5 separate regions of the Homo sapiens genome follow, and all the other regions are linked to region 3. Evidence: promoter capture Hi-C in 16 types of primary human blood cells and fetal thymus (Javierre and others, 2016). All regions are on one chromosome and are shown on one strand. The core of a region is centred on a gene start or on the middle of the fragment in contact, and the rest is flanking DNA. Distances in the headings are between cores, read along the strand shown. Region 1 overlaps EYA3 (EYA transcriptional coactivator and phosphatase 3). Region 2 overlaps EYA3 (EYA transcriptional coactivator and phosphatase 3). Region 3 holds the start of PPP1R8 (protein phosphatase 1 regulatory subunit 8). Region 4 overlaps EYA3 (EYA transcriptional coactivator and phosphatase 3). Region 5 overlaps EYA3 (EYA transcriptional coactivator and phosphatase 3).

What was found. The method cuts DNA at HindIII sites, captures the fragments that hold promoters and counts their contacts. A CHiCAGO score of 5 or more calls a contact.
Region 1: a fragment that was not itself captured here is called in contact with the fragment with the promoter of PPP1R8 in region 3 in 3 of 17 cell types (M1 macrophages, M2 macrophages and M0 macrophages); the score reaches 9.3 in M1 macrophages.
Region 2: a fragment that was not itself captured here is called in contact with the fragment with the promoter of PPP1R8 in region 3 in 2 of 17 cell types (M2 macrophages and M1 macrophages); the score reaches 7.5 in M2 macrophages.
Region 4: a fragment that was not itself captured here is called in contact with the fragment with the promoter of PPP1R8 in region 3 in 2 of 17 cell types (M1 macrophages and M2 macrophages); the score reaches 6.3 in M1 macrophages.
Region 5: a contact is called between a fragment that was not itself captured here and the fragment with the promoter of PPP1R8 in region 3, in 4 of 17 cell types (M2 macrophages, M1 macrophages, M0 macrophages and 1 more). The highest score is 10.3, in M2 macrophages.

The regions. Positions count from the first base shown.
Region 1 is chr1:28,039,098-28,045,061 of GRCh38, reverse strand. EYA3 (EYA transcriptional coactivator and phosphatase 3) reads left to right here. Exons shown (of 18, transcript NM_001990.4): 4 at 2,412-2,491. Among named protein-coding and RNA genes, the nearest start is that of EYA3, 47 kb to the left of the region's middle. The HindIII fragment of the contact is 2,107 bases long and covers 549-2,655 here.
Region 2 is chr1:28,021,136-28,026,485 of GRCh38, reverse strand. The region is part of intron 7 of EYA3 (EYA transcriptional coactivator and phosphatase 3); the gene reads left to right. Among named protein-coding and RNA genes, the nearest start is that of XKR8, 64 kb to the right of the region's middle. The HindIII fragment of the contact is 6,282 bases long and covers 1-5,350 here.
Region 3 is chr1:27,828,372-27,834,176 of GRCh38, reverse strand. It overlaps PPP1R8 (protein phosphatase 1 regulatory subunit 8), which reads right to left and starts at 3,395. Exons shown (of 7, transcript NM_014110.5): 1 at 3,286-3,395; 2 at 1,361-1,421. The coding sequence starts at 3,341. It overlaps LOC124903885 (a long non-coding RNA gene), which reads left to right and starts at 2,394. Exons shown (of 2, transcript XR_007065562.1): 1 at 2,394-3,428; 2 at 5,356-5,805. RefSeq lists enhancers at 2,346-3,130, 3,088-3,257, 3,131-3,916 and a silencer at 3,388-3,467. The HindIII fragment of the contact is 9,216 bases long and covers 1,197-5,805 here.
Region 4 is chr1:28,064,374-28,070,486 of GRCh38, reverse strand. All of the region lies in intron 1 of EYA3 (EYA transcriptional coactivator and phosphatase 3), which reads left to right. Among named protein-coding and RNA genes, the nearest start is that of EYA3, 21 kb to the left of the region's middle. The HindIII fragment of the contact is 715 bases long and covers 3,160-3,874 here.
Region 5 is chr1:27,976,870-27,982,447 of GRCh38, reverse strand. EYA3 (EYA transcriptional coactivator and phosphatase 3) reads left to right here. Exons shown (of 18, transcript NM_001990.4): 17 at 3,974-4,074. Among named protein-coding and RNA genes, the nearest start is that of XKR8, 20 kb to the right of the region's middle. The HindIII fragment of the contact is 4,618 bases long and covers 645-5,262 here.

The DNA.
Region 1 (5,964 bases), core at 353-2,852, 210 kb before region 3:
CTGTGGCTCACACCTGTAATTCCAGCACTTTGGATGCTGAGGTGGACGGATTGCTTGAGACCAGGAGTTTGAGACCAGCTTGGGCAACATGATGAAACCCTATCTCTACAAAAATTACAAAAATTAGCTGGGTGTTGTGGCACATGCCTGTAGTCCCAGCTACTTCGGAGGATGAGGTAGGAAGATCACTTGAGCCCGGGAGGTCAAAGCTGCAGGAGCCATGATCGAGCCACTGCACTCCAGCCTGGGTGACCGAGTGAGACCCTGACTCAAAAAAACAAAACAAAAACCAACCAAACAAAAAATATATACCATTTAAAAAAAACCCTTATTATACTTGAATATTAGAAGTCAGTTTCAGAAATGATACGAGAACTTTATAAATTTTGTGCTATATATTTTTTATATAAGCAACATTTCTTTTTACAATTTTGCTGTGTAGAAACTACTCTTACCTTTGATTAGTCAGCATTATCTTTCCAGATATATAGAACCTCTGGTACAGTGTCTTCCACCTCTCCCTAGAGAGTAGAAGAACAAAGCAAGCTTCTTTCTAGGGTGCATGAATGTAGGAATGATGCCTGGGCTTTGAAGAAGTTGTAATATAATAACAGTTACAGTTAAAGTGTGCTTACTGTGTTCTAGCTTTGCTCTAAATGTAAACTTATTAGTCCTCCTGACAGCCCTATGAGGTAGGTTTCATTTTTATTCTCGTTGACGGATGTAGAAAGCGGGGAACAGATAAGTTCAGTGACTTGTCCAAGGTCATAGGGCTAGTTATTGGCAGAATAGAATATGAACTTGAGCAGCCTCTGACTCTAGAATCAACACTCCTAACCACTGTGCTATAATGGGACATAATAACTGAAGAATGAAAAGTAGAGGAGATGGAAAAGAGAGAACATTTTGAAGAATGAAAGTTAGAACAATCTTCATTCCAGAATTTCTGTGGAATCTCCCCAGCATTAAACTATCTAACATAATGACTTGTCCTCCCAGTTTATGTGACTTATCATTCTCAATTTCTCTTAATTTTCCTTATAAGTTAAAAAAAATGATGTTGCTTAGTCCTGGCTATATAACAAATAGAAAATGAGGTGTTTGTGTTTTATTTAACTGGGAGATAAGAGAAATATAGTAGAATGAATCTTAAGGGTTTAGAACCCCCGCTTGGAAACAAACGTATAATTTTTGTTTGTTTGTTTGTTTGTTTGTTTTGTTTTTGAGACAGAGTCTCACTGTGTCGCCTAGGCAGGAGTGCAGTAGTGCCATCTCCAATCACTGCAACTTCTGCCTCCTGAGTTCAGGTAATTCTCAGGCCTCAGCCTCCTGAGTAGCTGGGACTACAGGCGTGCACCACAACGCCTGGCTAATTTTTGTATTTTTAGTAGAGACGGGGTTTTACCATGTTGGTCAGGCTGGTCTCAAACTCCTGATCTCAAGTGATCCGCCCGCCTCAGCTTCCCAAAGTGCTGGGATTACAGGTGTAAGCCACCGCACCTGGCCCAAACGTGTAATTTGAAAACACTTCTCATATGATTATGGTTTGTAGCTGATCAAGAACCACTGTCTGAAATCAAACGTCTCCCTACCTTCCTGTGGTACTTTGGGAGCAAGGTAACAGAGCACTGTTGCACAGAATGGTGACTGTAATAAATAATATAGCATTGTATATTTCAGAATTGCTAAAAGCATAGAACTTAAGTGTTTTCACGTTTTTTTTTTTTTTTTCACAAAAAAGCAAAAGGTGTTTTATATATCAAAACATCACATTGTACCCCATAAACATATAATAAAAAGTGGCAGAGCAATGTTTTACCATATGGTGTTAAAGAAAAATCTGACTTGCCAGTGACTTAGCTGGAATTTCTGAATTATATAAAAACTAAAGGGATCTAGAGATATAAGAAAGAACAGTAGACTGGGCGTGGTGGCTCACACCTGTAATCCCAGCACTTTGGGAGGCTGAGGTGGGTGGATCACAAGGTCAGGAGTTCAAGACCAGCCTGACCAACATGGTGAAACCCCGTCTCTACTAAAAATACAAAAATTAGCTGGGCATGGTGGCATGCACCTGTAATCCCAGCTACTCAGGAGGCTGAGGCAGGAGAATTGCTTGAACCCAGGAGGCGGAGGTTGCAGTGAGCCGAGATCGTGCCACTGCACTCGAGCCTGGGTGACAGAGTGAGACTCCATCTCAAAAAAAAAAGAAAGAGCGGTAGAATGCTGAGGGTACTAGCCCTGGCCCGAGCTCTCTTCAAGTAGTTGTTAAAAATCAACAATAAGGATATCACGAAGATTTACTTTGCCTCTTACTTATATAGCCTAGGAGGAAATGGGTTTGAACTCATCACTTTTTAGCAATGCAGCAAATCAATCAGGGGCTAATGTATTCATTTTGGTTCTCCCAGTCAAGTAAGCAATCCAGATGTCAGTGATCAGAAGCCTGAAACATCAAGCCTTGCTTCAAACCTTCCCATGTCAGAGGAAAGTAAGTACCATATTCTGTGCATGATTGAACAGATATTCCTATAACTAGTAATGCTTTTCTTATAGAGTTGGTTTTTCGTAATTGCCTTGTTTGTCCCAAAATATCCTGAAGGCTCTCCCATCCTTGTTTTTGTGTGTGTTTATCCTTGAGCCCTCCTGTAAGCTTTATTGACAGACCAGCTGAGAAAAGATCACATGGAGTCCACTCACCCAAGGAGTCACACGCCGTGATTTTATTTTTGTTTTGAGATTGGATGTTTTAAAGGTAATAGTGTCTTACAGAAAATCAGAGACAACTATACTTAACCATATATACTTCCCATGTATATTTTTTAAAAAGGTGTAACTTTTTTTTAAAAGGTGTGTCTTGAGTTCTATATAGTGTTTCCTCAAAGGTGATTCTATTCTGGTGGTTCTCAGACCTTTAGCCTACATAAGAATCATCTAGAATACTTGTTTGTAATGTAGAATTCTAGTTTCACCTCCAAAGATTATCATTCAGTAGATCTGATGTGGATAGGGAATCTGCATTTTTGACAAGTTAGCCAGGTGATTCTGGTCCATTGGGAAACTGTCCATTTTGTGGAAAACCACTCTAATTTGTAAAGTGTCTCCTCTAATTTCTTGAATTTCCCACTCATCCCCAAGAAAAAGACCTGTTCCCTAAAATCTTATACTTTACATACTTCAGGGTCAGGAAGTAAGTTGAGTATTCTTGCTCCTTCCAAATAATTTCCTTTTTTCCTTCAAATACTTTGGTTCAACTGGGCATGGTGGATCTTGTCTGTAATCCCAACACTTTGGGAGTCTGAGGCAGGAGGATCACCTGAGGCCAGGAGTTTGAGATCAGCCTGGGCAACAAAGTGAGACCTCCTCGCTACAAAAAATAAAATAAAATAAAATAAATAAAAACTTTGGTTCATTTGAAGTCTACATCTATACCTTCCCCTACCTTTCTATTTTTACTTTAGACTGTCATCCTATTCATTCTGTTCTTTATTTTTTTTTTTATGTTTTTTGAGATGGAGTCTTGCTTTGTTGCCCAGGTTGGAGTGCAGTGGCACAATCTCGACTCACTACAACCTCCGCCTCCCGGGTTCAAGTGATTCTCCTGCCTCAGCCTCCCGAGTAGCTGGGATTACAGGCGCATGCCACCATGCCCAGCTATTTTTTGTATTTTTTTGTTGTTGTTTGTTTGTATTTTTTAGAGGTGGAGTTTCGCTCTTGTCACCCAGGCTGGAATGCAATGGCAAGATCTCCGCTCACTGCAACCTCTGCCTCCCAGGTTCAAGCCATTTTCCTGACTCAGCCTTCCGAATAGCTGGAATTACAGGCACGCACCATCACGCCTGGCTAATTTTTGTATTTTTAGTAGAGATGGGGTTTCACCATGTTGGCCAGGCTGGTCTCGAACTCTTGACCTCAAGTGATCTGCCGGCCTCAGCCTCCCAAAGTGCTGGGATTACAGGCATGAGCCACCACACCCAGCCATTTCCTTCTTGTCAGGATGTAAGCAGCATACTTGCTCTTGTCAGATATAGAGGCTATTATTTGTGTTTCATATGCTATCTGTTTTTACCTTCCCCAAGGACTTTGGTACTATAGTTTTCTTGCCACCACTTGTGTGTCATCACGGTCTTCCCTTTTTATCCTTCCTGTCAGTAAAGAAACATCTTACCATTTTAAAACATAAACACTGCTCCCCCGACCCCCCCCTGCCCCTCCGCCCTTGGCTCCACATCTCTTACTAGTTATGGACCTTCTCTTTGTTCTGTGACATATCAGAACTTCTGCAAGAGTTGCCCTCACTTGCTTTTTCACCTCCCATTCACTTTTCCAGCCTCTCAAATTTAGCTTCTATCCTCACTCTTCCAGTGAAACTGCTGTCGTCAAGGCCATTAGTTATTTTCATGTTGCAAATTCTAGAATACGTTTCTCCTCACATTCTCCCTCTCAGTACTTTTCCTCCCACCTTTCTCCTTTGATGGCCCTTCTTTGGTGGGCCTCAGGGCTTAATTCTAGGCTACCATGTTTCCTCTTTTGGGATTCTCCGATCCATTACATTACTTTAAATATCTTGTACATGGTTAATGAATTCCATATTGATATTTCCAGTCTGACTTCTCCCCTGATTTCATTTGTGTATCAGACTGCCTGTTTGACATCTTTACTGGAAGGAAAATCATACCTAAGATCTTCAAAAAAGAACTTTCGATTCCTTTAGCCCCCGTGACATACACTCTTCTCCCAAACTTGCCCATCTTAGGAAGTGGTATCACTCTCCGTCTAGTTGTTTTCCTCATTCTCTACATCAAATCCATCAGAATGTCCTGTTAGTTTTACCTTCAGAATATATTTCAAAGTCTTTGCCTCATCCCCACTGTTGCTATTCTAGTCCAAGCCAGCATATTACTTACTTGATTCTTCTATAGTATAATGGATATTATATCTTGACTCTTTATAATCATTTTGTGGTTCCCAAGTACTGTGAAGATCAAGTCTCATTCATTCTCTAGAGAAGTGAAAATTGGCCTCAGTCTCCTAGGATGTTGTTGATTCCTTCCAGAATTAAATTAAATTGGAGGAAGATAAGGGTTTGGGTTTTTTAATATATGTGTCAACTGAGAACCATTATGTAGAATTCAAATAAACTTACCTTACATTCTTTGCAATGGATTGTCAAAACTTTAGATCTAATTGACATCTTCATTTTTGTCAAAATGATTAGAGGTGAATGTGATCTCCAATAATTATTTTTAAATACCTCAAACAATAGCATTGGACAAGCTCTTCTGTAATAAACTCACAGGTGTTGATTTGTCTTACTCTTGAGCATTTGAGTTGGCCCCTCATCTACTTTTGATCAAGGTTCTCTTTTTGGGTCAGGTACTCTTCCAGGGAACCTAATTAGACATAAAGTTAATTGGTTCACTTTTAATCAGATATTTACAGCGTTCATACCAGAAGTAGTAATCATGAGAGTCAAGCCTTCATAGCAGCTATTCCAGATGAAGTCATGGGGGTCAAGAGGACAATAGCTGGAAAAGTCTTTGAGAGTTCATCAGAGTATCACATCAGTTCCTCACGTCTGTCTGTGATTTGCCAAACTTAAAGCCTTCACTACAAAACAGAAAAAATAATAGTATAGAAGCATACTTGCATCTATTCTGCTGTTGATTATGCATAGCAGTAGCAGTGGTTTTAAAATAAGATTGGGTGCCTCCCCCAAATCTGTTTTCCTGCAAGTCATTCTTAAGGCTTTTACTCAATATAGTAAGCACTCAAAGAACAAATAAGCTGAAGTAGAATAATGTGGTTTTCCAGACATAAAGCTTGCTTTTTAAGTTTGCCTATCAGCATAGCCGAAAGCTTAGAAGGTTGCTTCATCTATTATTTTAGATCAGTAATGGGTAAAGGTAGAGATCCTTACCAACCTTCAGCTCTTTTCCATACCCCACCCTTCTTTTTTTAACT
Region 2 (5,350 bases), core at 1,098-3,597, 190 kb before region 3:
CCACCACACCCAGCTAATGTATTCTATATTTTTTTAGAGGTGGGATCTCACTATATTGCCCAGGCTGGTCTTGAACTCCTGGGCTCCAGCAATCCTCCCACCCCAGCTTCCCAAAGTGTTGAAATTATAGATGTGAGCCACCACACCTGGCCTAGTATTTCTCTATGTTGATAGGCCTTTTGGGTTCAACCACAGGTAAGTCTAGTTGCCAAGTCTCTTCTAAACAGGTATATCTGATAACTTACACCTAGGTTGTGAAAGAAGACCAAGGGTTCTCTTAATGCTCTACCAAAATGTAAAACCACCATTCCTCTGTAGTTATGTCTAGAATTTGAGGAATGTGATAGCTGTGCTTATTTCTCCCTTGTAAAACAAGAGGAATCACCTCTTTGGGGTCTGTTAGGACCCATTGCTTTAAGAGTCATGAGGCTGGGCGTGGTGGCTCACGCCTGTAATCCTAGCACTTTGGGAGGCCGAGGCAGGCGGATCACCTGAGGTTGGGAGTTGGAGACCAGCCTGACCAACATGGAGAAACCCCGTCTCTACTAAAAATACAAAAGTAGCCGGGTGTGGTGGCGCATGCCTGTATCCCAGCTACTCGGGAGGCCGAGGTATGAGAATCGCTTGAACCTGTGAGGCGGAGGTTGCAGTGAGCCGAGACTGTGCCATTGTACTCCAGCCTGAGCAACAAGAGTGAGACTCTGTCTCAAAAAAATAAATAGAAATTTAAAAAAATGGAAGAGTCATGAAAATATCCCTTAAACTTCACTAACCACCATTCTTATTTGTTATCTGTTAGAACATTTTTTCCTTTGGATTGGCTAACCCGGTTTCCTTCATTTTGCTATTAATGACAATTGCAGGTATTTATGAAGTGCTTACTGTGCTCTTGACATTTTTCTAAGCAGTGGATAGATGTTGCACACGTAATCCTCACAACAACCCAAACCTCATTTTAGAGAGGGAGAGCCTGAGGCACAGAAAAGCTAAGTAGCTTATCCATAGTCACAGTATTAGCAAATAATTAAGGCAGGACATTAGCTGGGCATTCTGACTCCAGAGCATGAGTACAATATTTATGCTTTTCAGTATTGAGGTCATAGTATCAATATCAACTCTCCCATAATTGAGAACCTTTGCTAACAAATATCTAAATTCACTTCTCCTCCCTTTTTGTGGTTAATCTATTGGCCCATTTTATTGTTCATTAGCACAGGGTAGAAATTAAGGCAGAAGTTAACCATTAAGTTATCAATTTTTGCCATTTATTCTGATGAAAAAATTGTTAGGAAAACAATGGGCTAAAATGAAACGTGGGTATTATTGGTATTAAATTACTTAAGTTCACCACTATCAATATTACTCTCCTCGCTCCTACTTTTCCCTTTCCTTTTAGCATGGATAGTGAATGTTAGCTATCCAGGGCTGTTTCTTTCCCCCTGCATAACTACCCAATTTTTTTAAGTGTTCAAAACACCCCAAGCATTCTGCAGTTGACAGCAGCCCATCCTCCCTGGGGGAGTTAGGGAAATTATCTCAAAAACCTAATCTGCTTCTGGCTTGATTAACTCTAAGCAGAACCTTTTCTTTAGTTTGTACTTCAGTGGTACCATAATGAGAAGAGACTGCCTTTGTTTGCTCATAAAAATGTTTTGAATGAGTAGATCTGACTTCTGTAGTATCATCCTTTTCCTAGAGTATCTTGTGACTATGTGGCCCTATCTTTGGTCATTTTCTTCAGCTGAGATGTTTTAATTGGTTAAATAATATTCAAGTGGCAAAATTAATTTCAGAAATTTCAAAATTAATTTTAATTATATATATATTTTGAGACTGAGTCTTGCTCTGTCGCCCAGGCTGGAGTGCAGTGGCATGCTCTCGGCTCACTACAACCTTTGCCTCCTGGGTTCAAGGGATTCTTGTGCCTCAGCCTCCCGTGTAGCTGGGATTAGAGGCACCCACCACCACGCCCAGCTAATTTTTGTATTTTTAGTAGAGACAGGGTTTCATCATGTTGGCCAGTCTGGTCTCGAATTCCTGACCTCAAGTGATCCACCTGCTTCGGCCTCCCAAAGTGCTGGGATTACAGGCATGAGCCACTGCGCCCAGCCTAATTCAATCTTTTAATGAGTGTCTTTGTACTCTAGTATCATTGGTAACACACAATAATCTATCTCTGACCAGGAGATTTTTAAAAAAATTTTTATTAATAGATGTTTTTGTTTGTTTGCTTGTTTGTTGTTTTTTGAGACGGAGTCTTGCTCTGTCACCCAGGCTGGAGTGCAGTGGCGTGATCTCAGCTTAATACAACCTCCACCTCCCGAGTTTAAGCGCATCTTCTGCCTCAGCCTCCTGAGTAGCTGGGATTACAGGCACATGCCACCATGCCTGACTAATTTTTGTATGTTTAGTAGAGATGGGGTTTCACCATGTTGGCCAGGCTGGTCTCAAACTCCTCACCTCAAGTGATCCGCCTGCCTCGGCTTCCCAAACTGTTGAGATGACAGGTGTGAGCCACCGCGCCTGGCCTAGACTTTATTTTTTATTAATAATTTTAGATTTACAGAAAAGTTGAGCAGACAGTACAGAGAGTTCCCATATATCCCTCCTCCTGCACAGTTTCCCATTATTAACATCTTACGTTAGTATATTACACTTGTTACAATTAGTGAACCAGTATTAGTATGTTATTATTAACTAAGTCCGTTGTTTATTCAGATTTCCTGTGTTTTTATATGATGTCCTTGTTCTGTTCCGGGATTCCATCCAGGATACCAAATTACATTTAGTTATGTCTCCTTAGGCTCTTCTAGACTTTGTAGTTTCTCAGGCTTTTCCTTGCTTTTAATGACCTTGACAGTTTTGAGGAGTACTGGTCCAGGTATATTTTAAGATGCCCCACTCTTAGAGAATTTATCTGATGTTTTTCTCATTATTACGCTGGGGTTATGGATTTTAAGGAGGAAGGTCACAAAGGCAAGGTGCCATACTATCATCATTATTTATGACTGTTGATGTTGACCTTGATTACCTAATTGAAGTAGTGTTTGTCAGTTTTCTCCATAAAGTTACTCTTTCCTCCCTTTCTGTACTGTATTCTTTAGATAGAATTCACTATGTACAGCCCACAGTTAAGGAATCATGCTGCCCCTTCTTTAGGGTAGAATATCTACATAATGTATTTGGAATTCTTCTGCCCAGATTTGTCTCTTCTCCCCAGTTTGTTGATTTATTCAGTCATTTTTTTGTGGACTCCTAGATATTTAATTTATACTTTGGGTTATAATCCAATACTACTTTATTTATTTTGTTCCAGTTTGGCCACTGGGAGCTCTTTCAGTTGGCTCCTATGCCTTTTGACATACTCCCATTTTTTTAGTTTTTGGTTTTCCCCCCCCCCCCCACCCAGCACTTTCTTACTTCCTGGCACTACAAGATGCTCCAGGCTCATCTTGTATATTACTTATTCAAGTCCTATTATCAACCATTTTTTTTAAGGAATCCTGGTTCCTTTTATTGGAAAAAATGGTATTCAAAACCAAGATTTGGGCTTCCAGCCTGGGCAACAAGGCAAAACCCCATCTCTACAAAAAATATAAAAATTAGCCAAGTGCAGTGGTGCGTGCCTGTAGTCCCAGCTACTTGGGGAGGCTGAGGTGGGAGGATCGCCTGAGCCTTAGGAGGTCGAGGCCTCAGTGAGCTGTGATCGCACCACTGAACTCCAGCCTGGGTAACAGAGTGAGACCCTGTCTCAAAAAAAAGATCTGAGCTTGAGGGGTGCTAATTGCTACTGAGGTGTCAGGTGACATTTATTTTAGGCTTTCTCAGCTGACAGAGCAAACAAATATATGTAGGTATACTAACCTATGTAAATACACATATCTATAAATATTTCTGTATGTCGTAATCTGTATCTGTGTTGAGTTAAACATGAATTCTTACTGATTTCTTGAGCTCTGATCCATTATTACATAGATCATTCTAAACCCTGTCCCTTATTGATCTGAAAATCTCCACTCCAGCAATGAGAATCTTTTAGGCCGGGCGCGGTGGCTCATACCTGTAATCCCAGCACTTTGGGAGGTGGATGCAGGCAGATCACGAGGTCAGGAGATCGAGACCATCCTGGCTAACATGGTGAAATCCTGTCTCTACTAAAAATACAAAAAATTATCTGGGTGTGGTGGTGGGTGCTTGTAGTCCCAGCTACTTGGGAGGCTGAGGCAGGAGAATGGTGTGAACCCAGGAGGCGGAGCTTGCAGTGAGTCGAGATCGCGCCACTGCACTCCAGCCTGGGCGACAGAGCGAGACTCTGTCTCAAAAAATAATAATCTTTTATTAGGAGATTTTTATTATTTTGATTTACTAAGCTCCTTGTGTGGAGCAGTGCTTGCACATAGTAGGCACTCAATAAATATTTGATAAAGGATTAAGTGAACGAATGACCCACTTAGGCAATCAGTTTTAACCAAAATATGTACAGCTTCTACTGGATCAGGAATTGTCAGTTATATTAGTCACATAATGAGAGTAAGTTTTAGGAACCCACCTGTCAGCCTTTAGCAGAAAATAATGATTTTAGGCTGGGCGCGGTGGCTCATGCCTGTAATCCCAGCACTTTGAGAGGCTGAGGTGGGCAGATCACTTGAGGTCAGGAGTTTGAGACCAGCCTGACCAACATGGTGAAACCCCGTTTCTACTAAAAATACAAAAATTAGTTGGGAGTAGTGTCAGGCACCTGTAATCCCAGCTACTCGGGGAGGCTGAGGCACGAGAATCGCCTGAACCAGGGAGGCAGAGGTTGCAGTGAGCCAAGATCATACCACTGCACTCCAGCCGGGGTGACAGAGTGAGAGTGCATCTAAAAAAAAAAAAAGAAGAATGATTTTGCCCTTCACACTTAGTGCACACAAGATAGATGTATATGAATCCCACAAATATTTATTGACCATCACCTGCTGTATGTCAGGTGCTTTGCTAGATGCTGGAGATTATAAGACAGCAGGATTCTGCCTTTTTGGAGCTTACAGACTAGTGGGGTGCGGGGGAGAAAACAAGTGAGTAAATACATAACAGATTTTGAACAGTGCTCTGAAAAAAAAATTGATCACTGTGATTAAGAAAACAGAAAAGGTCTTGGTTTTAATAGGTCAAAAAGACCCTCTTTGAGGAAGTGAGTCATGCTGAGGAGCCATCATGCTGGGAAGGCAAGGGGGTTGGAGAGAACAGTCTAGGCAGAGAGAACAATATTGCAAAAGTCCTCAAATGATAAAGAGCTTGTCCGGTTTTGAGTAACTTAAAGAAAGACAGTGTGAGCAAAGGAGGTGAAGTGACATGATCTAAAATTAGA
Region 3 (5,805 bases), core at 2,146-4,645:
ATCATTAAGACTAGGCAACCCTGTCTGTTTCTTCCTGTTGCAAACTAAAGATTTGCTAAATTCTAGTAATAAAACAGATCCCTATATGTCTTCAAGCTTTGTGCTATTCAGCAACAAATATTTTGTAACTGTGGAACAATCTATAGCAAAAAAGGTTTTACAGATATTTTAGCTAAATTATTTCTTTGAATAATCTTGAGGTTTTAAATCTTTAAGAGAGAAGAACCCATGACAAAGGGGCTCTCTGTGACTGGCTGAGTCCATGATGTATTCATAACAGGAGAAATCATTAAAACTCGTGCATGCCTTAATACTTTGCAAAATACCTGGTTATCTCTACAACATCTCAAAAGTGACAACAATATATTTACAGAGTAACCTTCAAAAGATCTCAGATAGCTTTTCAATCTAGCAACCGTGGAACTGCAACATTTTTATTAAATACCAAAAAACCACAATGAAAAAACTGCATTCAATAATGGGGCCTTGAACCTAAATTCTAGCTGAGCAAGCAAATATAAAATTGGTCTAATATGGGAGACTCACAGCTACATGGTCATAGTGGGCTTAATATCCATCTCTTGGTAAATAAATAATACCGTAAGGATTATAAAAAATTTACGCAAACTAATAGCTAATAAAAACTCATGTTCTCTTGAACTCCTATGTGGTGTTCTCTCTAGAGGCTTGTATAAAAGCTGGAATTCTGCTAAACTTTTATAGTACTTAATTCAAATATAATTATGTAATTTTTTGGTGTGATTCTGTCTCTCCCACTGGATGACTTGAGGACAGAAATTATGTTGGTTTTGCTTACTGCTGCAATCTGTATGCCAAGCACAGTAACTGGCACATAGTAAACACTCAATACATGTTTTGAAAGAATCAATTAATGAATTTCACCACAATTCCATTATCTTTTTGAGTAAATGTCTTAGTTTACCATACTTCTTATAAGGAGTTGGGCCTGAATGTCTTAAAATTAACTTAGAAGTTAAACTCAATATATATCATTCACTTTCTTCAGTTACTGCATACCTTGCACGGTTTACACAACTCCATGTACTCAGGGAGAGGGAATTAACCAAGCTAACAGGGCTTCCAGTTTGACTGGGGCCCACAGGACCCATGACCTATTAAAACCCTTCATTTGAGAGAAGTCACAAAAAATTGAGTGTCTGTGGTAGACATAAGCTTTAAATGTGTGATGTCACCATGTGCTTTTAACAGAAAAAAAAAATCAGGATGAAAGAAAGTAGCATTGCTGGAAAACAAAGCACAGGAGAGGGGGTGGAAAAGTGAGTCACTGGCAAAAATCTTTAGTGTGGCAGCCAAAAAAGTAAGACATGTATTTCCATACCTCAATTAGTTTGTCTCCTTTGACTACATCCAGATGTAAACCGGGAGGGGGCTTACCTGCCCTGAAAAATAAAAATAGAAAAAAGCATTTTCAGGATGGGTTTATAAATGCTATTTACAACCATTGTCCCATTCAACATTGCAGCTCTCCTACCAGCCTATAATTAGTTCATGTTCAAGCAGAAATGTCATCCACTTCACTGTTATTACAGCTCCATTCTACGTTTGACACTTACTTCCCTAGTGATTCAATTGCTCTGCAACAGATTTTAGTAGATCTGTATTTAGAGCAGCACCAAGAAACCTATATTTTAACACTGGATCTTCACCTCAGAGAAAGAACTGCATAGAGAGTGCAAGTACGATAGCTGGGGTGGTCTAGTCACCTGGAGTTTGAATCTGAAATCCACCCCTACTCCAATATCATATAAAGACCGAATAAATTAGTTGCTGTTTGGGGCTCATCAAGATTAGTCTCATCACAGAGTAAGCAAAGAGTACTGTCCTGAGCTCTGAAACCAAATCAGAGGTGCATAATTAGGGAACTAGGGCAATTCAAAATCATGCCCCATGAAACCAGGTACCAAATGAATATGTTACCCTTGAAACAGGTCTTTCTACAACAGCATGATTAGGGGACGTTTCCTCTATATCCTACAGCCATACCATTCAAGGGAGACTCATATGTCAAAGCACCTAACGGTGCCTGGTACCTACCAGATCCTAAGGAAAGGGTAGGTGATCTCAAAAACAGTGCTTTCTAACTATGTTTGCTATCTCGGCCCAAATTTGAAATCAATACAGCGAGGGATCAAAATGGATACAGAATTTGTAGACTGAAGCAACTACTACAAAAGTGCAAAGCGATCCAGAAAATAGCCACACATTTGCTTGCTTTTTGGGTTTGCTAATTTGAAGTTAGAAAAAAGAACCACCTCACTAGAACCTTTAGATTTGCACATGAAAAAACGTATCCTTGTCTAGCTAACTGAAGATTCAACACAGTCATCTCACAATCCTGCCCCAACCCCTCCTCTATGGAAAGGACAATGCACCGGACAAAAGGCCATTTTGTCCAGGAAAAAGGAGGAATGTTACATCCAAAACATACTTTCTGAATTCCTACTATGTGCCTGACTCAGGCCTAGGAGCTGGGAATACAAAGATGCAGTCTTTGCCCTTGAGGATGGCAATACAACGGGAGACAGAGACAAGCAACAAACAATACACTGCGATGAGCTACAGCAGAAAAAAACTCTTAATTCAGAAGCGTTTCCTTGTAAGGTAATTCATATTTATTCAACTTGTACCCTACTCAAAGACCAAATTAAATTATTTCATTATTCCCAAGAACTTTCGAAGGGATAAAAAGGGTTCATGCCAACCATTACTAATGCCTACTAGTGCCACAGACTGGGAGCTCCCTGAGGGCAGGGATGGCGCTAACCTACCCTCGTATTCTCTGTGGCAGACAGACAAGTGCCGCACGAGGGATGCAGCAACCACAGAGGGATGCGGGGCTTGGAGGTAGGGTTGGGGCCGGGGCTGGCTCGAGCGCGCTCGGGACGTACAGGAAGGGGCCAGATGCGATGCTCCACGAGAGCACCAGGCACTCAGTCAAGAGTTGGGCGTAAGTTCGGGCCAAGGCCTCGAAGCGCTCCGGCGACTGGCTAATCGCTCAAAGGGGCTGCCTAAGTGAGCGCCTTTGAGCCCCCAACCCCGGGTTTCTTCAGTTCCTGGGCCTGGGCTCCAGGCTCTCGGTTCTTCAACACGTCGCCCGGCCCGGTGCAGCAAACAGTTTTTCCTCAACCATTCCGGGGTTTCTGAGCCGTTCGGCTCGCAGCAGAAAAGTAAAAAAAGAGCCGCCCTTCCAGCCCAGGCTAGCTCCGGCCGGGCCACTCTAGCCCTGGCCGCCCCGCCACTCACCAGGTTGGGCAGTCGAACAGCGGGAGGCTAGAGCCGGAGTTCGCGGCTGCCGCCATCTTGCGTCTCCCCCTCCCATTTGGCGCGCCCTAAGCACGCCGGGAAACTGGAAGACCGAGAAGGGAAAAGCGGCATCCCAGCAGCCTGTGCGTACGCACGCTCACGCACGCCCGTACGGGGGGCGGTGCTTCTAGTGGGGACAGAGGAGCTTTTGGGATTTTTTTTTTTTCAGCGTTTGTGCGAGTTGGCCGTCTCTGGAAGTCTCCAGTGGTTAGGGTTTTCCTTGGCCAGGAGGTGTCAAAGGAAAAGGGGCTTTGTAGGGAGGGGAGTCAGTCTTTCCCTACGTCCTCCTGCAAACGCTTCTTGGCTCTAAAATCTTGGGACTAAGCCGTGCGCGATGGCTCACGTCTGTAATCCCAGCACTTTCGGAGGCTGAGGCGGGCGGATCACTTGAGGTCGGGAGTTTGAGACCAGCCTGACCAACATGGTGAAACCCCGTCTCTACTAAAAATACAAAAATTAGTCGAGTGTAGTGGCACATGCCTGTAATCCCAGCTACTTGGGAGGCTAAGGCAGGAGAATCGCTTGCACTCGGGAGGCAGAGGTTGCAGTGAGCCGAGATCGCGCCATTGCACTCCAGCCTGGGCAACAGAGCGAGACTCCGTCTCAAAAAAAAAAAAAAAAAAAGTAAAGAAAGAAAAAATCTGGGGACTACATCCTCCTCCAGAGTTTAGGTTAAGACCGTCAGCCTTTTGCCCTCAAAGCGGAGAAGCTAAAGGGCAAAACTCGGAGATTGGAGTGATTATTGTTTCTCTTCAGCCCTTCTCCAAAAAGTGGCACCCTACTCACTTTTTTCTAATTCACGTTTAGGCCTGTAGATTGTCAGGGAATCTGCATTAGGGGTCACCTAGTCTGTTTATGAAAACTCTGGACAAGCAGGAGCCAGGAGCAGGTCCAGTCAGAAAGCAGGGGTCCAAATCATCACTGTGCTTGGCTCAAATGGTTAATTTTTTTAAAAAGGATTTTTTGCTTTTGGTTATAGGGCAAGGAAGCATAAGGATTGCTCGCTTGCCCTAGATCACCAGCTGGTTTTAAGAGACCATTAGCAGGGCCTCTGGTTTTTTATTTTTTATTTTTTTATTGATCATTCTTGGGTGTTTCTCGCAGAGGGGGATTTGGCAGGGTCATAGGACAATAGTGGAGGGAAGGTCAGCAGATAAACAAGTGAACAAAGGTCTCTGGTTTTCCTAGGCAGAGGACCCTGTGGCCTTCCGCAGTGTTTGTGTCCCTGGGTACTTGAGATTAGGGAGTGGTGATGACTCTTAATGAGCATGCTGCCTTCAAGCATCTGTTTAACAAAGCACATCTTGCACTGCCCTTTATCCATTTAACCCTGAGTGGAGAGAGCACAGGGTTGGGGGTAAGGTCATAGATCAACAGGATCCCAAGGCAGAAGAATTTTTCTTAGTACAGAACAAAATGAAAAGTCTCCCATGTCTACTTCTTTGTACACAGACACAGCAACCATCCGATTTCTCAATCTTTTCCCCACCTTTCCCCCTTTTCTATTCCACAAAACCGCCATTGTCATCATGGCCCGTTCTCAATGAGCTGTTGGGTACACCTCCCAGATGGGGTGGTGGCCGGGCAGAGGGGCTCCTCACTTCCCAGTAGGGGCGGCCGGGCAGAGGCGCCCCTCACCTCCTGGATGGGGCGGCTGGCCGGGCGGGGGCTGACCCCCCCCCCACCTCCCTCCTGGACGGGAGGGCCTCTGGTTTTAATGGCATTGTCTGTTCAGCAGTTACCTGGGCAAGTATGTATTTTATATGGATCATCTCACTTAATCCTGACAATACTCTTGAGTTAGGTATTATTATAATTCCAGAGGAGAGGCTTAGAGAGATTGAGTTACCCAGCTTCACCCTAGAACAAGTGGAGTGGGATCAAAAACCTAAACCTATATGATGCCGAAGGCCATGCTCATGAGTCACTATTCTCTCTTACACTTTGATGTTGGTATAATTATATTTATTATTAGCATGCAACTGATGCCCCTCTTTTTCACTTTTGTAGACGCGTTGGGAGGATTATCTGACCAGTTTTTCCTTTTTTAAATAAATCAATTGCTAAGTTCCTGTTCATCCAGAAAGAGGCACTGCTCAGCAAGTTGAGGAATCTATGATGAAAGTAGTTCTTTTCTTGCTTCCATGCTACTGGTTCTGTAGAAAATCAGCCTATTCAAAAGATTTTTGCCCTTGATGAAGTCTCCAGCCCTCAAGATTTAACTGCAATATAACTTAGAAGGAGTGAGAAGATCAAAAAAGTAACTGCAATATAACATTAACTTGGATTTTAAGATTATCAACTCTTAGGTAGACTGGAGAAACACCTTTTCCTCTGGCCTTTAAAGCACAATAAACTTATCCAGCAAGGATGGCGACTAATCAGATCACTTATCAAATGGCCTGTTAATATCCTCCTTTTCAGCCTTGTGATTCCAAAGTAAGACTAGGCTGATTGGAA
Region 4 (6,113 bases), core at 2,268-4,767, 240 kb before region 3:
GGGTTCAAGTGATTCTTCTGCCTCAGCCTCCGGAGTAGCTGGAATTACAGGTGCCCACCACCACGCCTGGCTAATTTTTGTATTTTTAGTAGAGACGGGGGGTTTCACCATGTTGGCCAGGCTGGTCTCGATTTCCTGACCTCAGGTGATCACCTGCTTTGGCCTCCCGAAGTGCTGGGATTACAGGTGTGAGCCACCGCACCCGGCCCCTTACTTAGATTTCTTCATTTCCCACTTTCGTTTTCAGTTTGTCTGTTTCATTCAGTGGTCAGGAGATGGTCAACAAGCCCAAACAGAGAGGTAATAGCAAAACCAAGCAAACAAAAAACATAAACTTTGCTATTTGTATTAGTTTCTTGTGGCTGCCATAACAAATTACCCCAAACAGACTTTGAGGCTTAAAACAACAGAAATTTATTCTTTCACTTCTGGAGGCCAGAAGTCTGAAATCAGGGTGTTGGCAGGACTGAACTTGCTCCAGAGGCTTTAGGGGCAATCATCCCTTGCCTCTCCCAGCTTCTGGTGGCTGCTGACATTCCTTGACCGTAACCCTCCAGTCTCTTCTTCCATTTTCACATTGCCGTCTTCTCTGTATGTGTGTTAAATGTCTGCTTTTCTCTTATAAGGATATTTGTGATGGCGTTTAGGGCCTATGTATAATCTCATCTCAAAATCCTTAATAACATATGCAAAGACTGTTTTTCCAAATAAGTGAACATTCACAGGATCTGGGTATTAGGCTATGGACCCATCTTTGGCTAGAAATCTATTTCATGATAACTGTGTGTATATGTGTTTGGGAAAGGGGATTTCCCCCCTCCTCTCTTCCTCTTCTACCCCCTCTTTCCCTTCCTTCCTTCTCCTCTTCCCTCCCTTTCTCCTTTCCCTCCCACCCTCTTTTTTTTTCTTCTTCTTCTCTCTCTTTTTTTTTTTTTTTTAAATAGATTGGGTCTCTTGCTGTGTTGTCCAGGCTGGTCAACATACCAGATTACCAGATTACTCCTGGGCTCAAGGGATCCTCCTACCTCAGCCGCCCCTTCCCACTTTGACCCCAGCCCCAGTTAAAATTACTTGTTTTGGCCGGCCATGGTGGCTCATGACTGTAATCCCAGCAGTTTGGGAGGCCGAGGTGGGTAGATCACTTGAGCTCAGGAGTTTGAGGCCAGCCTGGGCAACATGGTGAGACTGTCTCTACTAAAATACGAAAAATTAGCCGAGTGTGGTGGCATGTGCCTGTAGTCCCAGCTACTTGGGAGGCTGAGGCAGGAGAATTGCTTGAACCCAGGAGGTGGAGGTTGCAGTGAGCTGAGATTGTGTCACTGCTCTGTTTCAAAAATAAATAAATAAATAAATAAAATTACCTGTTTAATTAACAGTAAGTCAGGCTGGGCACTGTGGCTTAAGCCTGTAATCCCACTTTGGGAGGCCAAGGCGGGCGGATCACTTGAGACCAGGAGTTCGAGACCAGCCTGGCCAACATGGTGAAACCCTGTTTCTACTAAAAATACAAAAATTAGCCAGGCATGGTGGTGGACACCTGTAGTCCCAGCTACTTCAGAGGCTGAGGCATGAGAATCGCTTGAACCCAGGAGGCGGAGGTTGCAGTGACCCAGGATTGTGCCACTGTACTCCAGGCTAGGTGAGATTGTGACACTGTACTCCACCCTGTCTCAAAAAATCAAAAAACAAACAAACAAAAAAACCCAGTAAATCAAAGTCTGTACATTTTAAATTAAGGACTTACGGTTATAAAGAGAAATCAATTTGTTTTTGTGGGTTTTTTTGCTAGCCTGTACAGGGAGTTAATACGTAGCATAAAAAGAATGTCAGGGAGCTCTCTGAGTCTGAATCTTTTCTGATTCTGAGGGCTGCCAGATTCAGAAGTAGCTCTTTGTTCAACTAAGCTCTTTATTCCTCTAAAGAAAAAAAAAAAAGGAATGTTATTTTTGGATTTTTAGGAGGTCCTTAAAGTGCCAATCCATACATTGAAAAAGAAATTTTGAGTTTAAATTTAAAATATTTAAAAACGTTAAGAACATGATGTTATATCATAAGATCAAAGTAATGTAACATAGGATAGAGATGTAATGAAAGAAAAGGAATAAGTAGCCTAAGGTAATAATATTAGGAATGTAATTTTTTTTTTTTTTTTGAGATGGGAGTCTTAACTCTTGTTGCCCAGGCTGGAGTGCGGTGGTGCGATCTTGGCTCACTGCAATCTCCACCTCCCGGGTTCAAGCGATTCTCCTGCCTCAGCCTCCCAAGTAGCTGGGATTACAGGTGCCTACCACCACGCTAATTTTTTTTATTTTTAGTAGAGACGGAGTTTCACCATGTAGGCCAGGCTGGTCTCGAACTCCTGACCTCAGGTGATCCACCTGCCTCAGCCTCCCAAAGTGCTGGGATTACAGGCATAAAGGAATGTAATTTTAAAAGGGAGGGTTTTATGCTCAATTCCACATAAAGAGGACAAAAAACTTCAGACAAGGGAGTTCAGAGTTTTGGATTCCACCACTGTTTCTGCTGCTTACAGGTTCATGAGGCAGTGCCTTCTCTTTTGTTTAATTTCCTCAACTTTAAAATAAGGATTACATTTAATGATCTGTGATACTCTATCCTTTGTAGCATCTTTTGTTATATATTTTCTTGCATTTCCAAGAGAGAATCGTGTCTGTCCAATAGAGTGAAACCAAATGTGAAGTCTCTTCCAATAGCAAATTCTTTAACTATTGGAAGTTCGTTGCTTTTGCTTAGAGCTGTAAAATGAACCAACCCTGAGTTTGTGTACAGTGTCTAAATAACTTCTTAGGAAAGAGATGACACAGCCAGAAAATCAAATGAATCTTTCTGCCTATACTGTTGTCACAAACAGGGTAAGATTTTTTAGGTAAGGCAAGATCACTGTGATTTGAAATGCTTTTCCCTCAAAACTGAAATTTTTTTTCTAATGGAAAAAGTTGGGGGCAAGAATGAAGAATTTGTGTCTAATTTTAGCTTAATGTCTTGAACATTTTTTATATAAGCATTTAAAAATATGTATTTAAACATTTTACTATACTTTTAAATGTAAGCTTTGTATCTGCTTTTGATTCTTATCAAATTATATGTAAGCTATTATTAAACTAACATAAAAACATGTATTCACCTTTTAAATAAGCTTGTATTGAAATAGTTTACAGTTACAGTGTAGTTAAACTTATTGTTCACATGTTGTTTGTTTCTCATTTTTCGTTTCTGTAGACAACAAACTTATACTATTTTTAAAAGTAGAGTTTGCTTCTTTCCCCCCTGTATGTAATTCTTGGGTGAGCACCTAAGAAAAATTATTCAGATTAGGCTGTGGCCAATCTTATGACCTCTTTTATACTTTATCCAGGAACAGTCTGAAGACACATATGATTTTACAGCTGTGCCTGACTGAATATGTCTTTATCTTCTCATAACCCAGATAACACTTGGTTTTATTGTTTAGATTTTTTTTGGTAGCTTAATATGTATGAAGTCGTATCTTAAGAATATTGCAATTTATATTTCTCCAATTAGTAGTGAGACAGTCTTTTTTCTCAAGTGCCGATTGAATCTCTGTGGTTTAAACTGCCTGTTTTTATCCTTTGACAGGTTTATGAGTTAGTCATTGTTTGCTCCCTAATAATAGATGATCGGGAAATGTTGAATTGGTTTGGTTTATATTATAAACATTGTTTTATTTATCATAATTCTTGCAGATATTGCCTGAATTTATAATATTTTAATCTTAGATTTGTTTTTTTCATTGCATGAAAGTTTATTTTACATAATTGGATTTGTCAAATTCTTGTTTATGCTTTCTTTGAATTGACCATAAATTCATCTCTTTTCCATAGTGAGATAAGCTTACTGTTCTGTTTTCTCCAAAGTTTTTTGAATGTTTAGTTTTTTAATATATTTATAATTACTTACAGCATATGTTGATGTGGATATTTTTTGCATGTTGGTATTCAGTTTTTCTGACAATGTTTTCTAAATACTGATTTTTTCTCCATTTATTTCATATTTTAAATACTTTATAGATTTGATCTTTTTTTGGCATTTCTAATCTCTTAGGGTTTTTTTTGTATTTTTTATTGTAAAATATACGTAAGATAAAATTAACTGTTTTAACCATTTTTAAGTAAGGTAGTACCCCCACCATCTGTAGTTTTGCTTTTGGCGGTTTTAGTTACCTTCTATCAACCTTGGTCTGAAAATATTAAATGGAAAATTTCACAGGCAAATAATTCATCAGTTTAAAATTGTGCACTGATCTGAGTAGTGTGATGAAGTCTCTCTCCATTTTGCTCTTTCCTGCCTGGGTCATGAATCATCCCTTTATCCAACATATTCATGTTGTAGACACTTCCCGCCTGTTACTCACTTAGGAGCCGTCTTGGTTATCAGATCATTTGTTGAGGTATCTGCAGTACTTGTGTGTTCGAGTAACTCTTTTTTGTTTTTTTTTTTTGAGACAGAGTTTCACTCTTGCCCAGGCTGGAGTGCAATGGCGTGATCTCAGCTCACTGCAACCTCCGCCTCCCGGGTCCTGGTTCAAGCAGTTCTCCTGCCTCAGCCTCTTGAGTATCTGGGATTACAGGCATGCGCCACCATGCCCAGCTAATTTTTGTATTTTTAGTAGAGATGGGGTTTCACCATGTTCGCCAGGCTGGCCTTGAACTCCTGACCTCATGATCCGCCCGCCTCGGCCTCCCAGAGTGCTGGGATTACAGGCATGAGCCACTGCACCCAGCCTGAGTAACTCTTATTTTACTTAATGGCCCTGAAGAGCAAGAGTAGTGTTGCTGGCAATACAGATACACCAAAGAGAAGTGCATTAAGTGAAAAGGTAAAAGTTCTCCACTAAATAAGGAAAGAAAAAAAATCATATGCTGAGATTGTTAAGATCTACGGTAGGGCTGGGTGTTGTGGCTCACACCTGTAATCCCAGCACTTTGGGAGGCCGAGGCGGGCGGATCATGATCCAGACTATCCTGGTCAACATGCTGAAACCCCGTCTCTACTAAAAATACAAAAATTAGCTGGGCGTGGTGGCACGCATCTGTAGTCCCAGCTACTCAGGAGGCTGAGGCAGGGGAATCGCTTGAACCCAGGAGGCGGAGGTTGCAGTGAGCTGAGATCTCACCACTGCACTCCAGCCTGGTGACAGGGAGAGACTCCATCTCAAAAAGAAAGAAAAAAAATCTATGGTAAGAACTAATCTTCTGTCCATGAACTTTTGAAGAAGGAAAAGAAATTCATGCTAGTTTTTCTGTCACACCTCAAACTCCAGGTTTTGGCCACACAGTGTGTGAAAACTGCTGAGTTAAAATTTATCATAGGTATATATGTATAGGAAAAAAGACAGTCTATATGGGTACCATCTGTGGGTTCAGGGGTCAACTGGGGGTCTTGCAGTGTATCCCCCCCTTGGAAGGGGAGACTACTGTATACAATTCAGTGGAATTAAGTACATTTACAATGATCTGCAGTCATCATCACTATTATCTAGTCTCTTTATTTAAGGTATTTTCACTTCAACCTGCAACATTATTGCTGTTACTCTTGGACAAATTGTTTAAATCTCTGAATCCCAGTTTCCTTGTTTGTAGCATGAGGATGATAATACCACCTGCGTCTTAGTTGTGGAGACAAAATTTGATGAGATAGTGAATATAAAAATTACTTGGAGCTGGATGCAGTGGCACATGCCTGTAGTCCCAGCTGCTTGGGAGGCTGAGGTGGGAGGATTGCTTGAGCCCAGGAGTTTGAGACCAGCTTGGGCAACATAATAAGACCCTCATGTCTTAAAAAAATAAAAAAAATAAAAACTAAAAACTTTGTGTATTATATATGCTCAGTAAATGATAGTTCTCTTATCTTTCCCACTATTATTGGTTTTAAAGAATGGTGTAGACAGGTTTTCCTTAAATGGCCTCTGTTGTTCTCCTTTCTCCCAAAATATTCATTATTAATTTTGTCTAATTTTCATTAAGAAATTTGTAGGTATTGGAGTAAACCTTTGTTCACTTCTTTTTTTTTTTTTGAGGCAGAGTCTCGCTGTCTCGCAGGCTCTATATATTTATATATATATATATAGAGAG
Region 5 (5,578 bases), core at 1,704-4,203, 150 kb before region 3:
AGGGTCAGGTGGAGTGGCTCACGCCTGTCATCCCAGGGCTTTGGGTGGCTGAGGTGGGAGAATCACTTGAGACCAGGAGTTTGAGATCAGCCTGGACAACATAGTCAGACCCCATCTCTACAAAAAAAATTTTTTTAATTAGCCAGGTGTGGCCAGGAGCCGTGGCTCATGCCTGTAATCCTAGCACTTTGGGAGGCCGAGGCAGGTGGATTGCCTGAGCTCAGGAGTTCAAGACCACCCTGGGCATCACGGTGAAACCCAGTCTCTACTAAAATTAGCTGGGCATGGTGGCGGGCACCTGTAGTCCTGGCTACTTAGGAGGCTGAGGCACGAGAATTGCTTGCGCCTGGGAGGCGGAGGTTGCAGTGAGCCAAGATCACGCCACTGCACTCCAGTCTGGGCAACAGAGAAAGACTCTGTCTCAAAAAAAAAAAAAAAAAAATTAGCCAGGTGTGATGGCTTGTACCTACAATCCTAGGTACTCTGGAGGCTAAGGTGGGAGGAGCACTTCAGCCCACAAGTTTGAGGCTGCAGTGAGCTATGATTGTGCCACTGTACTTCAGCCTGGATGGCATAGCAAGACTTTGTCTCATAAATAAGTAAATAAATACAGCAACTGTGAAGTGTTAAGATTTTACAAAGCTTCGTTGGTGGTAGGCATTTTTTTCTTTTTTTTTTTTTTTTGAGACAGGGTCTCACCAGGCTAGAGTTCAGTGATCACGACTCACTACAGCCTCGACCTCCCTGGCTCAAGCAACCCTCCCACCTCAGCTTTTCGAGTAGCTTGGGATTATAGATGCACACCGCCATGCCTAACTTTTCCTATTTTTTGTAGAAATGGGGTCTCACTTTGTTGTCAAGGCTGGTAATTCTCCATGCTTTTTTGTATGGTTGAATTATTTCATTTACAAGGGATTGGGTGGAAGGGAACATATATGAAAGCGCTCCCTTCAGATATTGTTCCTGCTGCCGGTTGCTTTATGTATATCATAGGAACCCAGAGCACTCACTGAGCCTCCCACATCTGAAAGACAGATTTTCTGTAGTGCTTATTATACTGAGACCTGGCACCCGCAGGCTCATCAGGCTAATGGAAATGATCTCATTCCCTCTGTCAGTAAGTGTGCTTATTTGGTATTTTTCCTCAGTCTCAGTTCATCCAGAGCTAATTTGCAAAGCTGCAGTGGGATCTGGTGCTATGGTAACCACAGTAGGAGGCTTGAGGCTTTTCTTCACAGAACTGTGAAATGGGAGCAAGGAGAAGAAATACTTTTTCACTTCCTCTGAAATGATAGCAAAATATGGTTCTCTTAATGGCCATTCTGTGATTTGGGGACATTAAAGAGAATTCTCAAAATAATTTCTGAAAATGTCAGAAGTTTTTTTTGTTTTGGGGGGTTTTCTTGAGACAGGGTCTCACTCTGGTACCTAGGCTGGAGTGCAGTGGCACGATTATAGCCCATTGCAACCTTAACCTTCCCACGCTCAAGCGATCCACCCACATCAGCCTCCTGAGTAGCCAGGACTTCAGGCGTGTTCCACCACCATACCCAGCTAATTTTTTAATTTTTTGTAGGGAAAAGGTCCCACTGTGTTGCCCAAGCTAATCTCAAACTCTTGTGCTCAAGTAATCCTCCTGCCTTAGGCCTCCCAAAGTGCTGGGATTGCAGACTTGAGCCACCGCTCCTGGCTAGAAATATTTTAATAGAGAAAACCCAGGGACTAATATTCTCCAAAGATTTGGCTGATCTTACAGTTCACCAGCTTCAATTGCTTGACATATGGTAAACTGATTAATCATTGGCCTCATCCTCCTGAACAGGAAAGCTCATATCCAGAAATGGAAGTATTTTACCAACTGTATTGGAGTGAGTCCTGTTTTCATGGAGCTGCTTCTTTACTTTGAGCTGTTAATAACTCTCTTGGCCTCTTAATCCTTTTAAAGGAGACATTACAGAGTATATTTCATCCTTGATCATTGCATGCCAGGACAGTGAAAATGTCTGTGTTCTTATCCTCAAAATATGAGTTACTGCCTTTGTTGAGTCTTACAAGAAAGTCAAACTGACTCACTTAAAAAAGTTTTTTGCTACAGACAGATCATAGTAGACTGTGCATCTGGTGGAGGTTGGCTTAGTTTGTAAAGCTGTAATGGGTGAAATGGAATTAAAGAACTCTTCAACACCATGAACATAATAAGAATTTATTATTAGTTGAATGGTTTAATGTTTGAACTGAATTGAGGCATAAGACCTGGACTACAGTCCTCCACTGAATCATTTGTGAGATTAATATGAATTTACTCAGCAAACATTGATTGAATCCCTCATATGAATGTAAGGCATGACAATTCTATTGTAAAATATTAGCACTAAAAGAGACCCAAGTGCACCTAAGCCAAGCCTTGTATTGTAAGTGGCCAGCTGAGCCCAGAGTGATCTAGTGTCTGGTCCAGTTGACTAGTCCGTCTGTTTTGAAGTGCCACTGGGTTAAGGATGTCAAAGATTTGCAGTTACATATCTGCACAACTTCTGTGCCAAGTAGGACTTCTGCGTATGGAAGTATAAGTTCTGGCCAATTATGTTACAGTTATCTTAGATTTGTATATTTATATATTACAGTGATTTTCCAGCAGATGGCAGTCAAATGTCTTGAGGAAGAGGCAGCTTTATCTTATTTACACAGGAACCCTGGTGCTAAGTCACTCTGTTGGGCAAGGGGAAAGAACAAGAAGGTTAATAGAGCAGGATGAAGAAGAAAGCCAAAGTTAGGACCTTGTTTAACTGAAGAAGGTGGCAGAAGCAGGGAGATAAAAAGAGCAAGGGATATAACTTCTTTTTATTTATACAAATAAAGTATCTTTCCCACAGCAGTATGATCTGTGTATGTTTTAGGTGTTGGTTGCAGATGGGATTTGAGTTTTGATACACTGCCATGTTTCTCAAAACTGTCTGCAGTTCTGAGAAATGGATTTAAATCACCCATTTCCCAAGGTCAATTTCAGTGATGCAGTATCTTGGTTACAACTACAAGGTATAGTAAGTAAGGAGGTTCCAGATATGACAAATGTTGATGCCATATTTATTGGTCACTGTTCTCAGTTCTATTCTGGGGCTGTTCTCTCACTGAAAGACGTAAGGCCTATACCCAGGACTGTTTCTGGGAAATGAAGAATTGGAGGGAAATGGCTTTTTGTTTGTTATTGTTTCTAACAAGAAATCAGGGCCTTGTGTTTTCACTTCTCTTTTCTACCCTAAAACATTTCACCCCAAAAATCATTCATTCATTATGACACAATGACCAGAGCCTAGATTTGGAGTCAGGGGCCCCAAGTTCTAGCTACTTGCTTGTTTGTGATCTAGGGGCAAGTCACTAAACCTATTAATCTTTCCCATTTATAGAAATTCCCTCACACTAAGATCTTAGGGACTTCACCCTCAACGTGAAGGTTAAAATAAGTTTTTGGGTTGTTTGTTTGTTTGTTTTGAGACAGAGTTCGCTCTTGTTGCCCAGGCTGGAGTGCGATGGCATGATCTCGGCTCACTGCAACCTCCGCCTCCCGGGTTCAAGCGATTCTCCTGCCTCAGCCTCCCCAGTAGCTGGGATTACAGGCACGCGCCGCCATGCCCAGCTAATTTTGTTTTTTAGTAGAGACGGGGTTTCTCCATGTTGGTCAGGCTGGTCTCAAATTCCCGACCTCAGGTGATTCGCCCGCCTCGGTCTCCCAAAGTGCTGGGATTACAGGCTTGAGCCACCATGCCCGGCCAAGTTATTTTAATGGCACAACTTCACATTCTTTGGGCAGAGGGTCTACTGGATCTCTAGCTCCCATCCCTACTCCCCAGCAAGCAAACTACATGGGCTGTCACTTAGTCCACCTAAGCACAGGCAGGTGAACCTAGCAGCAGCCCTCTTCTTTGGTTTTGAAAAGAAGAGAAGAGTATTCTAACAGGAAATTTCTTTTTCTCATCAGGTAAGGAGAGCTGCTTTGAGAGAATTGTGTCAAGGTTTGGAAAGAAAGTCACATATGTAGTGATTGGAGATGGACGAGATGAAGAAATTGCAGCCAAACAGGTAACCATGGTAAAGAAAAATAGTCTATGTGGTTGTACATCGAGTAATGAGAAAAATGGGAAAAACTACAAAATCTTAGCAATCTATTATGCATTTATAATATTTTCTCTTTCTTCCTCTCCCATTTTTCTTTAAAGAAAAAGAGGGTCTTTTTTTTCTCCAGATGGAGTTTTTCCTCTTAAGTTTTTAGATCCATCCCTTCCTCTTCCTCCCTGTCACTCAAGAATCTTAAAATCTTTAAGCCCTTCTACAGGGATCCCATCATTAAACCTGAGATGTGCCCCATCTTCCATCTTCAAAGACAGTGCCTTCTCAAGCATCAGACTTGACTGCAAAAAGGCTAATCATTCTTTCTTTTCCATGCTTCAAGTTCTCAGACAGTACAACCAATAGCTGTTTCTGTAGAGAAAGTCTTTCCTGCCTTTGAGCCCTGGAAAGATTGTTCTGATGTTAACCCCACCACTATACAGGTCCCAACTTCAGGTCACCCCTTCTTTTTTTCTTTTTTCTTTTTTTTTCTGTTTTTGAGATAGAGTCTCACTCTATCTCCCAGGCTGGAATGCAGTGGCACAGTCTTGGCTCACTGCAACCTCCGCCTCCTGGGTTCAAGCAATTTTCCTTCCTCAGCCTCCCAAGTGGCTGGGACTACAGGCACCCGCCACCATGCCCAACTAATTTTTGTATTTTTAGTAGAGACGGGGTTTCCCGTATTGGCCAGGCTGGTCTCGAACTCCTGACCTTGTGATCCGCCTGCCTCGGCCTCCCAAAGTGCTGGGATTACAGGTTTGAGCCACCACGCCTGGCCCAGGTCACCCCTTCTTAATATAGGAAACAATAGATGAAAGAGTCTTGGCTATAGAACTTAAAATCCCATCTGTGTCTCAGCTATGTGAATTTGAACAATTATCCTCTTTGAGTATCCTCATCTGCTAAATGGATCTGTAGAAGTTCTTTCCCTCCCTATCCCAATTTATTTTCTTCCAGCAACTCTATTTCTTAGACATGGAGGCATTGGGTTGCCAGCTAGAACCAACTGCCCTGATACTCTTCATCCAGTTAAGTGGAAACCTTAGCAACTATAATAAACTATGAGATTGGTAATCAGTTGGCATTATTATCTCATGTTTTCATTTGTCACTTTATGTAGCAATTCAGGGATCCTTATTTTTTCACATATGTTATGAAGCTTTGATTCTAAAGTGCTTCTTGTTGCCCTCTTTGGGAAAGACACTAGTGGGTGTAGGCATCAATGTTTCCTGGTCTGAAGAAGGGTATGGGGGAGAGAACAACTCATCAGCAGAGTTGGTAACTCTGAGCTAATGTCTTTAATCATCTACAACAGAATACATCCATTGAGGCTGGGCACGGTGGCTCATGCCTATAATCCTAGCACTTGGGGAGGCTGAGGCAGGCAAATCACCTGAGGTCAGGAGTTCGAGACTAGCCTGGCCAACATGGTGAAATCCCGTCTCTACTAAAAATATAAAAATTAGCCGGGCATGGT